Linked DNA regions of Homo sapiens: region 2 is linked to region 1. Evidence: promoter capture Hi-C in human tissues and cell types (Jung and others, 2019). All regions are on one chromosome and are shown on one strand. The core of a region is centred on a gene start or on the middle of the fragment in contact, and the rest is flanking DNA. Distances in the headings are between cores, read along the strand shown. Region 1 holds the start of LIPE (lipase E, hormone sensitive type). Region 2 overlaps GRIK5 (glutamate ionotropic receptor kainate type subunit 5).

Region 1 (5,575 bases), core at 1,929-4,428:
GGATGGTGGTAGGAGAACGCTCGGCGCCTGCGCACTAGCTTCAGGCCGCGGGCCGGCCCAAGAGCGGAGGTAGAGGGAACGACGCATGCTTGAGAAATGGCGGGAAACAGAGGAGGCTCGAGGCTTGCTCACACGCACACAGCCAACTGCTTCTGGACCGCCTTGCTCACACGCACACAGCCAACTGCTTCTGGACCGCCTGAAAGGCAACCTCGCCCGCCGCGGTGGTGTGGGGCGGGCATCCCTTGAGACTGTGCTCTGGAGGCCTGGAGAAACAGCTTTCTATCCTCAGCACTGGGGAGAGCAGGCCTCAATCCCTGCCTTTGCCTGCCGCCCCTCTTCCTTCCCTCTCAAAGCATACCCAGCAGCCCCGGCGCTGAGAAACGCGTTACTCTCTTATCAGCTGTGGGAGAGACAAGACAGACTGGCCTCTGGGCGGAGGGGCCGCCATTGCCTGCCCTCTGGACCAGGGCCTCACAGATACCCTCAGCTTCAGGATTAGGGCTGCGTTGGTTTTTCCCCCCACATCAGGGGACTTCAACAAGTAACCTCCAGTTCCATAGATAAAACTTGTATTCCCCCCTTCTCCATGGCAGGGGTTTTGAGCCTAGAGAAGGAAGATCGGAGCTTCCTGGGGCTCCTGTGAAGCAGGCAGGGGGCAGCACTGGGCCCCGGGAAGAGGCGGAGAAGGCGAGGGAGTGCCTGCGGTGAGCCCAGAGCCTTGGGCCCGTTATCCTCTGATGCTGCTCCCCCAACTTTCCTGCCGTCAGTCCCTGACCTTGCCTGAGACCTTGGCGGCTCCCGCACCTCTCTCCCGGCTCCTCCTTGCTGAGAACACAACCCGCAAGGCCCTTCCGCCTGGCTGGACTGAGTCCCCTATGGAGGCAGCCTGGCAGGGAGCAGGTATCTTCCTGGCAGAAGAGGACAGACCTGGTAAACTGAGAGACTGTTGATGCCCCAATGTTCTGCCTAGCCTGCCTGGAAACTCCAGAAGGGTAAGGTACCGTCTTTGTATTGTATTGCTGGGACTTACGCCCGTGTCTACCCCAGAGCTGGTGCTCAGTCAGTTTCTGTGGATGGATGAATGAACACTGGCAAGAGGGCCGCTTTCCTGGTCTCCTGGTCCCTAGCTCAGAGTGCCTTCCCACTCTGGGATTTGATTTTCCCCAAATCCTCTATAGGGAGGCAGCCTGGTCCAGGGGAGAAAGACCCCGGCTTCAAATCCTGACTTTGCCACTTCCTAACTGCATGGCCCTGTGCAAGAACCCTTACTTCTTTATTTTCTACCTGATGTCCTCATTTCTAAAATGAGGATGTTGGCCAGGTGCTCGGTGGCTCATGCCTGTAATCTCAGCACTTTGGGAAGCTGAGGTGGGAGGCTTGCTTGGGGCCAGGAGTTCGAGACCAGCCTGGGCAACATAGCGAGGCCACGTCTCTACGGAAAATGTAAAAATTAGCGGGGCATGGTGGTGCACTTGTAGTCCCACCTACTCCGGAGGCTGAGGTATGAGGATCGCTTGAGCCCAGGAGTTTGAGGCTGCAGTGAGCCATGATCATACCAGTGCACCCCAGCCTGGGCGACAGAGTGAGACTTTGTTTTTTTCTTTTTTTGAGATGGAGTCTTACTCTGTCACCCAGGCTGGAGTGCAGTGGCACGATCTCAGCTCATTGCAACCTTTGCCTCCCGGGTTCAAGTGTTTCTCTGCCTCAGCCTCCCGAGTAGCTGGGATTACAGGCACCTGCCACCACGCCTGGCTAATTTTTGTATTTTTAGTAGAGACGGTGTTTCACCATCTTGGCTAGGCTGGTCTTGAACTCCTGGCCTCAAGCAATCCATCTGCCTCGGCCTCCCAAAGTGCTGGGATTACAGGTGTGAGCCACTGCGCCCAGCCTTTTTTTTTTTTTTTTTTTTTTTTAATAATGGGGATGTTGATCTTTATCTCAGGATTGTTGAAGGATGACCAGAGCTAACCTGATACACCGTAAGTTTTTAGTATTTTTTAAGTAAATGAATGACTGTCCCTGAGAGGCTTCAATTCCTCCAGATTCACACTCACCTGTATCCTGGTAGTGTCTGTGATTCCGAGCACTGGTTTTCTCATGTGGCGACGTCCCACTGTATCCTGACATCACTTTATAACCAGATTTTCCTTTGAAGCCTAGCTTCACTCCCTGGGCCACCATTCCACCCATCGTGGCTGGAGAATCTGTGTCTGAAGATGATCCCACATCTGATTCTGACTCAGAATCTGTGACCCACTCAGAAAGTGCCTTCCACTCTAGGGCTGATCGCTGTATGGATAGTTCCTGAAGTTTTGTTAGAAATCCCAGCTCTGTCAAAGATCCCTGCTTGGATTTGGCTCCCTGGACTGGCGTTGTTTGCTTGTCTGACTGTTCAGGTGTCTCTTGGGACGTAGATTCAGTCGGGGCAGATGGCTCCCTTTTGGCTCCAGGTTTAGCCTGGGCCGCAGGTGTTGATTCAGCTTCTTGTTGAGCTGGAGGTGGCTCTCCTGGCCCAGGCCCTGGCTGGGCTACATGTCTTTGTCTCAATGCTGGCTCCTGTTGAGTTATAGATTCTTTTCCTAGCCCAGGTCCCTGCTGGGAGGCAGCTTCCTGTTGAGTGAGCAGCACCCTTTGGATGTAAGGTGATTGCTGTGGTGCGGGCTTCTGTGGGGCAAGAAATTCCTCTTGTGAAGCAGATTTTTGTTGGGCTCTAGGTTCCTTCTGGGATTCAGCATCATGTTGTGCAGGGGTCTCCTGCTGGGTGAGGGGTCTTTGGTTTGAAGCAGGCTTCTGTTGGGTATTGGATCCCTGCAGAGTCTTCGATTCTGGCTGGGCTATGGGTGTCTTTTCTGGCCCAGGCTCTAGCGGGGTTATAGGCCTCTGGTGTGGTTCAGGTTGCCAGTCTGACCTAGACACTGACTTAGAACCTGGCTCCATTGTTATTTCCCTCACGGGAGATATTGATCTTCCAGGTTCTATCCTTCTGGGCTCCCACCCAGCCCTCTCTCTTCACAGATCTCTCATTGATTCCTCATGATGGCACTTCCTCTTGGGTTTCACTCCATCCTAGCATCACTGGTCTTCCTTTTTAAGGCAGCTGGCAGTTGGCCGATCACAGCTGGCCCCCACTAAGTAATGAACTCTGTGCCTCTTTCTTTGGTGGGAGGATTAGGAATAGGAGGAGGCTATGTGCCTAGCACTCTCTTACAAGAAGGGAGGGGCTTGCTCTCTTGTGTCATAAATAGGGCCCCACCCCACCCACCACTCCGTTAAAATGTTTCTTCTCATAAGGCAAGCATCCCAATTTAGGCCTCCGTGTCATCTGGGATGACAGAAGCCAGATGCTGGATGAGTGTTCCTTTTTTCTCTTTCCTTCTAATGTCTGAGGAAAGCGTCATTCAGGGGGCAGTCTCTGTAGTTGTTGTAATAATTATTTCCCTCTTTGTTCATTCCTACAAATGGTTGCCAGATTATTTATTTATTTACTTATTGAGACAAGTCTTTCTCTGTTGCCCAGGCTGGAGTGCAGTGGTACCATTTTGGCTCACTGAAGCCTCCACCTCCTGGGTTCAAGCGACTCTCCTGCCTCAGCCTCCCAAGTAGCTGGGACTACAGGCGTGCACTGCCACGCCCGGCTAATTTTTATATTTTTAGTAGAGATGGGGTTTTGCCATGTTGGCCAGGCTGGTCTCAAACTCCTGACCTTAAGTGATCCACCCCCACCCCCCGCCCCCGGGCCTCCCAAAGTGCTGGGTTTACAGGTGTGAGCCACCACGCCCAGCCAGGTTGCTAGTTTAATTTCCTTATATTGTCATTCTGATCATTTAACTCTCATGTTAAAAACTAATGTCATGCCTTCCCACTTTTATAGCTTGAGGCCCTTCTGAATGGCATTTGAGATACTCCATGCCATCTCTCTAGCCCTGAACTATGATCCTGTACTAGATTGGAAACTCACAGAAGACAGTGACCACTGATGACAATGACTGATAATGATGGTGGTAATGGTGATGATAGTAGTCATAAATACCAAAGGCTGCCTAAGTGCTAAGAAACTGTGCCAAGTTTTTTTTTTAAACCTATATTATCTTTAATAAGACCGTGTCTGGTTCATTGGTATGCTTTTTTTTTTTTGTCCCACCTCGCTCTTACCTCAGAAAGATTTGTCGAATGAGTGAAAGATGAACAAGTAGGCCAATGGAGACAGAGTGAGGGTCTTGGTGGGGATAAGTATGTGTAGAATCTGGATTCAGTCTGCAGTGAATAGGGTAAAATGGGTCATCTGGTTGTGAATTGGCAGACCCCATTTGAAGGAAACAATTTTGATCTGTGACATTTAAAAATATTTATTGACTTCTGTTTGCTACTTTCCTGATTGCATTTAAGGTTAAATGACACTAGCTAGGAAGCTACAGTTTCCTGGAATCTTTCAGGTAATTAAGCCTAAGCCTGGGTAAGGGGAGGGCACAGGCTAAGACTGACGAGAGAAGAAGACACTAGAGAGAGCAACAAACAAAATGATCTTGAAAAACATGCTTTTTGAGAGCACTGGAATGATTTAGGGGTGGGTACAGTGGGAGAGTGAGGTGGGAGAAGAAGAGTGTCTGGTAGGTGTGCTCACTGTCTTCTTGGCTGAGAATGTTTAATTGGAAGAGTGGGCGCTCAGAGCTCCTACAAAGGCAGAGCAAAGCTTCTTAGCTGACATTGTTTGAGAAATTGCTGGCAGGCTCTGGAATGCTTGTTTGGCTTTCTGTGGTGCCTTTGGTGTCCTAGGGTGCAAATAAAGGGGAGAGGCTAGTGTTAAAACCATTTTTAACATTTCTTTTTTTTTTGGAGACGGAGTCTTGCTCTATTGCCCAGGCTGGAGTGCAGTGGCAGGATCTCAACTCACTGCAACCTCTGCCTCCCGGGTTCAAGTGATTCTCCTGCCTCAGCCTCCCAAGTAGCTGGGATTACAGGTGCCTGCCACCATGGCTGGCTAATTTTTGTATTTTAGTAGAGACAGGGTTTCACCATTTTGGCCAGGCTGGTCTGGAACTCCTGACGTCATGTGATCCACCCACCTCGGCCTCCCAAAGTGCTAGGATTACAGGCATGAGCCACCATGCCTGGCCTTCACATTTAATTTTTTTTTGAGATGGAGTCTCGTTCAGTTGCCCAGGCTGGAGTGCAGTGGTGCAATCTTGGCTCACTGCAACCACTGTCTCCCAGATTCAAGCGATTCTCCTGTCTCAGCCTCTCGAGTAGCTGGGATTACAGGCACCCACCATCATGCCTGGCTAATTTTTGTATTTTAGTAGAGATGGGGTTTCACCATGTTGGCCAGGCTGGTCTTGAACTCCTGACCTCAGGTGATCCACCCGCTTTTGCCTCCCAAAATGCTAGGATTACAGGTGTGAGCCACTGTGCCCAGCCAACATTTAATTTTTATGAGAGTTTTAAAAATTATAAAAATAAGACTCATCCAGTGGAAAAAAATTTTAAAATCCAGTAAAAAGTAAAAGGACTCCTCCCACCCCAGCCTCTACAACACATTTTCCAGGGCTAACCACTGTTAATAGTTTGCTACGTA
Region 2 (5,378 bases), core at 666-3,165, 410 kb before region 1:
CACAGCCACACTCATTCATTTAATGTATCATCTACAACAGCTTCTATACTACAATGGAAGATTGAGTAGCTGGAACAAAGACCATATGATCAACAAAGTACAAAATATTTACTTAGGGCCAGAGCAGTGGCTCATGCCTGTAATCGCGGCACTTTGGGAGGCTGAGGCAGGAAGATCGCTTGAGGCCAGGAGTTCAAGACCAGCCTGGGCAACAAAGTAAGAACTCTCTACAAAAAAAAAAAAATGAAAATAATAAAAAATTAGCCAGGCACGTAGTCCTAGCTACTCAGTAGGCGGAGGCAGGAAGATCCCTTGAGCCCAGGAGTTTGAGGCTGTAGGGAGCTATAAACACACAGCACTCCAGCCTAGAGACAGAGCAAGATCCTGTCTTTAAAAAAATAAAAATAAAGATAAATATTTAAAAACATCTTTTTTTTTCTTTTTTTCTTTTCTTTTTTTTTTTTTTTTTTTGAGATGGAGTCTTGCTCTGTCGCCCAGGCTGGAATGCAGTGGGGCGATCTCGGCTCACTGCAAGCTCCGCCTCCCAGGTTCGCGCCATTCTCCTGCCTCAGCCTCCGGAGTAGCTGGGACTACAGGCACCCGCCACCGCACCCGGCTAATTTTTTGTATCTTTTAGTAGAGACAGGGTTTCACCATGTTAGCCAGGACGGTCTCGATCCTCTGACCTCGTGATCCGCCCACCTCGGCCTCCCAAAGTGCTGGGCTTACAGGCGTGAGCCACCGCGCCCGGCCTAAAAGCATCTTTACTTAGAGAAAACATAAATGTTTGAGGTGATGGATTTCCCAATTACCCTGATCCCAGCATTTCAGGATGCTGAGGTGGGAGGACTGCTTGAGCCCAAGAGTTTGAGACCAGCCTGGGCAACACAGTGAGACTTCGTCTCTACCAAAAATAAAAAAATTTAGCCGGGTGTGGCGTCGCACACCTGTGATCCCAGATACACAGGAGGCTAAAGTGGGAGGATCACTTGAGCCTGGGAGGTTGAGGCTGCAGTGACCTGTGATCACACTACTGCACTCCAGTCTGAGTGACAGAACAAGACTCCATCTCAAAAAAAAAAAAAAAAAATCACCTGTACTCCCAAAAATATGTACAACTATTACATATAAATAAAATTTAAAAGAAAAATTACTGGCCAGACACGGTGGCTCACACCTGTAATCCCAGCACTTTGGGAGTCTGAGGCGGGTGGATTGCCTGAGCTCCAGAGTTCAAGACCAGCCTGGGCAACATGGTGAAACCCCATCTCTACTAAAATACAAAAAATTAGCCAGGCGTGCTGGCGTGCGCTTGTAGTCCCAGCTACTTGGGAGGCTGAGGCAGGAGAATTGCTTGAACCTGGGAGGCAGAGGTTGCAGTGAGCTGAGATCGTGCTGTTGCACCACTGCACTCCAGCCTAGGCAACAGGTCAAAACTCCATCTCAAAAAAAAAAAAATTTTACTATCTGGCCCAATGCAGAAAAAATTGGCCAAACCTTGCTCCAAGGCCTAAGTATACACTGTTTATAAGAAACACACTTGGGGCTGGGCATGGTGGCTCATGCCTGTAATCCCAGCACTTTGGGAGGCAGAGGCAGGTGGATCACTTGAGGTCAGGAGTTTGAGACCAGCCTTGCCAACATGGTGAAACCCTGCCTCTACTAAAAATATAAAAATTAGCTGGGTGTGGTGGCATGAACCTGTAGTCCCAGCTGCTTGGGAGGCTGAGGCAGGAGAACCACCTGAACCCAGGAGGTGGAGGTTGCAGTGAGCTGAGATCACACCATTGCACTCCCCAATACTCACCACACACTTGGTCAGGTGTGGTGGCTCATAGCTGTAATCCCAGCACTTTGGGAGGCCAAGATGGGAGAATCACTTGAGCCCAGGAGTTGGAAACCTGCCTGGGCAACAAAGTGAGACCCTATCTCTATTTAAAAGAAAAGAAAAGGAATGCTCTTTAAATATAATAATCTAGATGGGCCGAGACTAAAAGAATGGGGAAAAGATATGCTATGCAAACATTAAGCCTCAGAAAGCCAGAGTGCCTATATTAGTATCAAAAAATGTTAACTTCAGAACACAGAATGTTACCAGGAATAAGGAGAGACATTATATAATGACATGGGTCAATTCACCTAGAGGACATAAGAGTCCTAAACATTTGTGCGCCTAATTACAAAGCTTCAACATGCATGAGGCAAAAATGGATAGAATTGAAGAGAAACGGATAAATTTCCTGCAATTACAGGGTGAGATTTCAAAACTCCTCTCAATAATTGATGGAACAAGTAGAAAATCAGTAAGGATAGAGAAGACTTGAATAACATGATCAACCTACTGGCCCCAATGGACCCTTATAGAACACTGCACCACCAACAGCAGAAACACATTCAGTGCAACTCCACATAGAACAGTTACCAGGACAGACCATATGCTGAGCTCTAAAGCAAGTCTCAATAAATTTAAAAGGATTAAAGTCCTCTAGAGAATGTTCTCTGACCACGATGGAGCTAAATTAGAAATCAATCATAGAAAGATCTCTGGAAAATCCCCAAATCCTGTCTTCTCCATCAATGCCTTGCTGCGTGACCTTGGAAGTGTGCTGCAGTTTCCTCACCTGTGAAGTTAGTACAATTGTAGGCCCTTCCTCACTGGGTTTTGTGAAGAGTGACTGAGTTCATCCGGCACACAGCAAGTGCTATGCAAGTGTTTTCTCTCATTGTCTTGGTGACACAGGACCGACCCGGGAGAATAGGCTCCCACCAGCCTGGCTGCAGGACCCCAGAGCAACCACTTGTCTTACCGTGGCCCCCTCTGTCCTCCCTCCTGGCAAGTAAGAATGGCCAGGGTCCCTGTAGACCATATAGATCTGAGGGGCCTGAAGGCAGAGGAGATGCTGAAAAGGGCCTCCCAGACCTCCCACCCTCACATTCCCAGCACGTAATAATGAAAACAGCAATGTCCTCCACAGAACACATGTGCAAAGCTATGCTAGGCACTGGGATGGGGATGGAGTGAGGGCTTGATAGAGAGACATGAATTAAACAGCCTCCTGAAAAATAAAACCAAAACCCCAAGACACAAAGACCCAGGGACTGACTCAACCTCTCCAGAAACCAAGTCTCTCCAAACCCATCTTACAGGTCAATGCTGCCATTCATGCAAAACAAAATTATTTGGCCAGGCACAGTGGCTCACGCCTGTATCCCAGCACTTTGGAAGGCCGAGGTGGGTGGATCATCTGAGGTCAGGAGTTCAAGACCAGCCTGGCCAACATGATGAAACCCCGTCTCTACTAAAAATACAAAAAATTAGCCAGACGTGGTGGCTGGCACCTGTAATCCCAGCTACTCGGGAGGCTGAGCCAGGAGAATCGCTTGAACCCGGAAGGTGGAGGTTGCAGTGAGCCGAGATCGTGCCACTGCACTCTAGCCTGGGCAACAAGAGCAAAACTCCATCTCAAAAATAAAAAAATAAAAACAAAACAACAACAACAAAAATTACTCAGTGCCTGGTACACACCATGCACCCTCTGGCCCCTGAGGACACAGTGTGGATGACTGGTGGTGGTGATGGGGCCACTCACTAAGGCAGCAGAGGGAACACAGACTGGGAGTCAGATTTGGGAGTAAAGACATGAGCTCTGTTTTGCACAAGGTGAGTTTGGAGATGCCTGTTGAGCTCCCAAGAGGAGCAATCCCAGGGGGCTGGACACATGGAGGGGTCTAGAGATGACTTCGGAAGTGTTAGTATGCGCATAGCATGGGAAGTCCAGCAGCAGGTGAGATGGCCCCTGACAAGGTGTATGGAACAGTGGTCTCTGGCAGGGAGGGCACCCTGGGAGGTGTTTGGTAAAGTGTGGGCCACTGGTGCTCAGCGTAGGACAGCCGGATAATTCGAGGCCTGGTCTGAACAATGGGGAATACCTGTTCTGTGATTATCTGAGCCTAACTCCTTGGTACATTAAAAACCCAAGTTTTTTTTTTTTGCATGATTATAATATAAACCAAAATCTCCAGAAATGCACCTCTTGTTTTAATCGAGGGATGACTGGATGTTGTTTTGTTTGGAACTTTGCTGAGAGCTGCTCACCGTTGGGGGAAATCATCTGTCTCTGACAGCAACTCCACTCGAACTCAAGACCCAAGTCAAGACCCTTGCACCAGCTGCATTAGCAAATCATCACGTTCACAGTGACTTGTATTTGCACAAACATACTCATTTGTCAACTATTTCGATGTGTCAGATATCAAGTGGCAACATAATTCTGTTAAATGATCTTACTTCTCATCATGCCACTTACTCATTCTAAGCAGGCGCCGACTGTCGCATTCTGTCTTCTGGCATAGCCACACCCAGGCATTTGTGTATTGCCATAATATTATTTTATTGGAAGTCACTTCCCTGCTTTTTCCCCTTCATATTGCAATTATGGCGTTAAATTGATTTTTTACAAATTATGTGTGTAGGAAGATATATTACCCTTGAATTTCAGCTCAGTGTGGAAAAGGACGTATTAAAAAATATTTGTTATAAAAAGAGGGTGTTGGGTCTGCAAGCACTGAAAACTCACTAGTGTGAGTGAGAAGCCCCATTTGAGGGGTGGCAAAGGCAAAAGGAACCCACAGCAAATGAAACAGGACCAGAGAGGTTGGAGGAAACCAGGAGGACACAGAGCCTAGAAGCAAGAAGAGAGTTTCTAGAAGGGTGGCTAACCGGGCGAATGCTGCCTGGAGGTAAGACAGAGGCTGGAGGCATGGATAAGGGGTCGCATGTGCGCCTGGTGCAGCTGGGGTTGGGGGAAGGCAGGCAAAGCCAAGCTACTGGCTAGATCTGAGGTTTTGTGGTTTTCTGGCCAGGAGGGCGTGAGGAAAGGAGGACCTAGGGAAAAGTTGAGGACAATGGCTGCAGAGACAGCCTAGGAGCCACCTGGAGATGGACGAGTGAAAGCAGGAAGGGCTCAGAGAATGGAAACAGGGAGGTCAGAGGACTCATCGCACCAAGTGACCAAGGGAGAGTTGGGAGGGATGGGGGCCATGGTCAGAGTGAAACCTTAGAAATACTGACTCCCGGCTGGGCGTGGTGGCTCACGCCTGTAATCCCTGCACTTTGGGAGGCCAAGGCGGGTGGATCACGAAGTCAGGAGATCGAGACCACCCTGGCTAACATGGTGAAACCCCATCTCTACTAAAAAAAAAAAAAAAAAAAAAAAAATCAGCCAGGCATGGTGTTGGGCGCCTGTAGTCCCAGCTACTCGGGAAGCTGAGGCAGGAGAATGGTGTGGACCCGGGAGGTGGAGCTTGCAGTGAGCCGGGATCGCACCACCACACTCCACGCTGGGCGACAGAGCGAGACTCTGTCTCAAAAAAAAAAA

The links. The method cuts DNA at HindIII sites, captures the fragments that hold promoters and counts their contacts. A contact is called where the count stands out against the background at its distance.
Region 2: a contact is called between a fragment that was not itself captured here and the fragment with the promoter of LIPE in region 1, in 2 of the 25 tissues and cell types used here (H1 embryonic stem cells and liver).

Annotation. Positions count from the first base shown.
Region 1 is chr19:42,424,210-42,429,784 of GRCh38, forward strand. LIPE (lipase E, hormone sensitive type) reads right to left here and starts at 3,179. Exons shown (of 10, transcript NM_005357.4): 1 at 2,058-3,179. The coding sequence starts at 2,940. CXCL17 (C-X-C motif chemokine ligand 17) reads right to left here. Exons shown (of 4, transcript NM_198477.3): 4 at 4,069-4,772. The coding sequence ends at 4,675. All of the region lies in intron 1 of LIPE-AS1 (LIPE antisense RNA 1), which reads left to right. The HindIII fragment of the contact is 15,228 bases long and covers 1-5,575 here.
Region 2 is chr19:42,012,957-42,018,334 of GRCh38, forward strand. The region is part of intron 15 of GRIK5 (glutamate ionotropic receptor kainate type subunit 5); the gene reads right to left. Among named protein-coding and RNA genes, the nearest start is that of ATP1A3, 21 kb to the left of the region's middle. The HindIII fragment of the contact is 6,690 bases long and covers 1-5,260 here.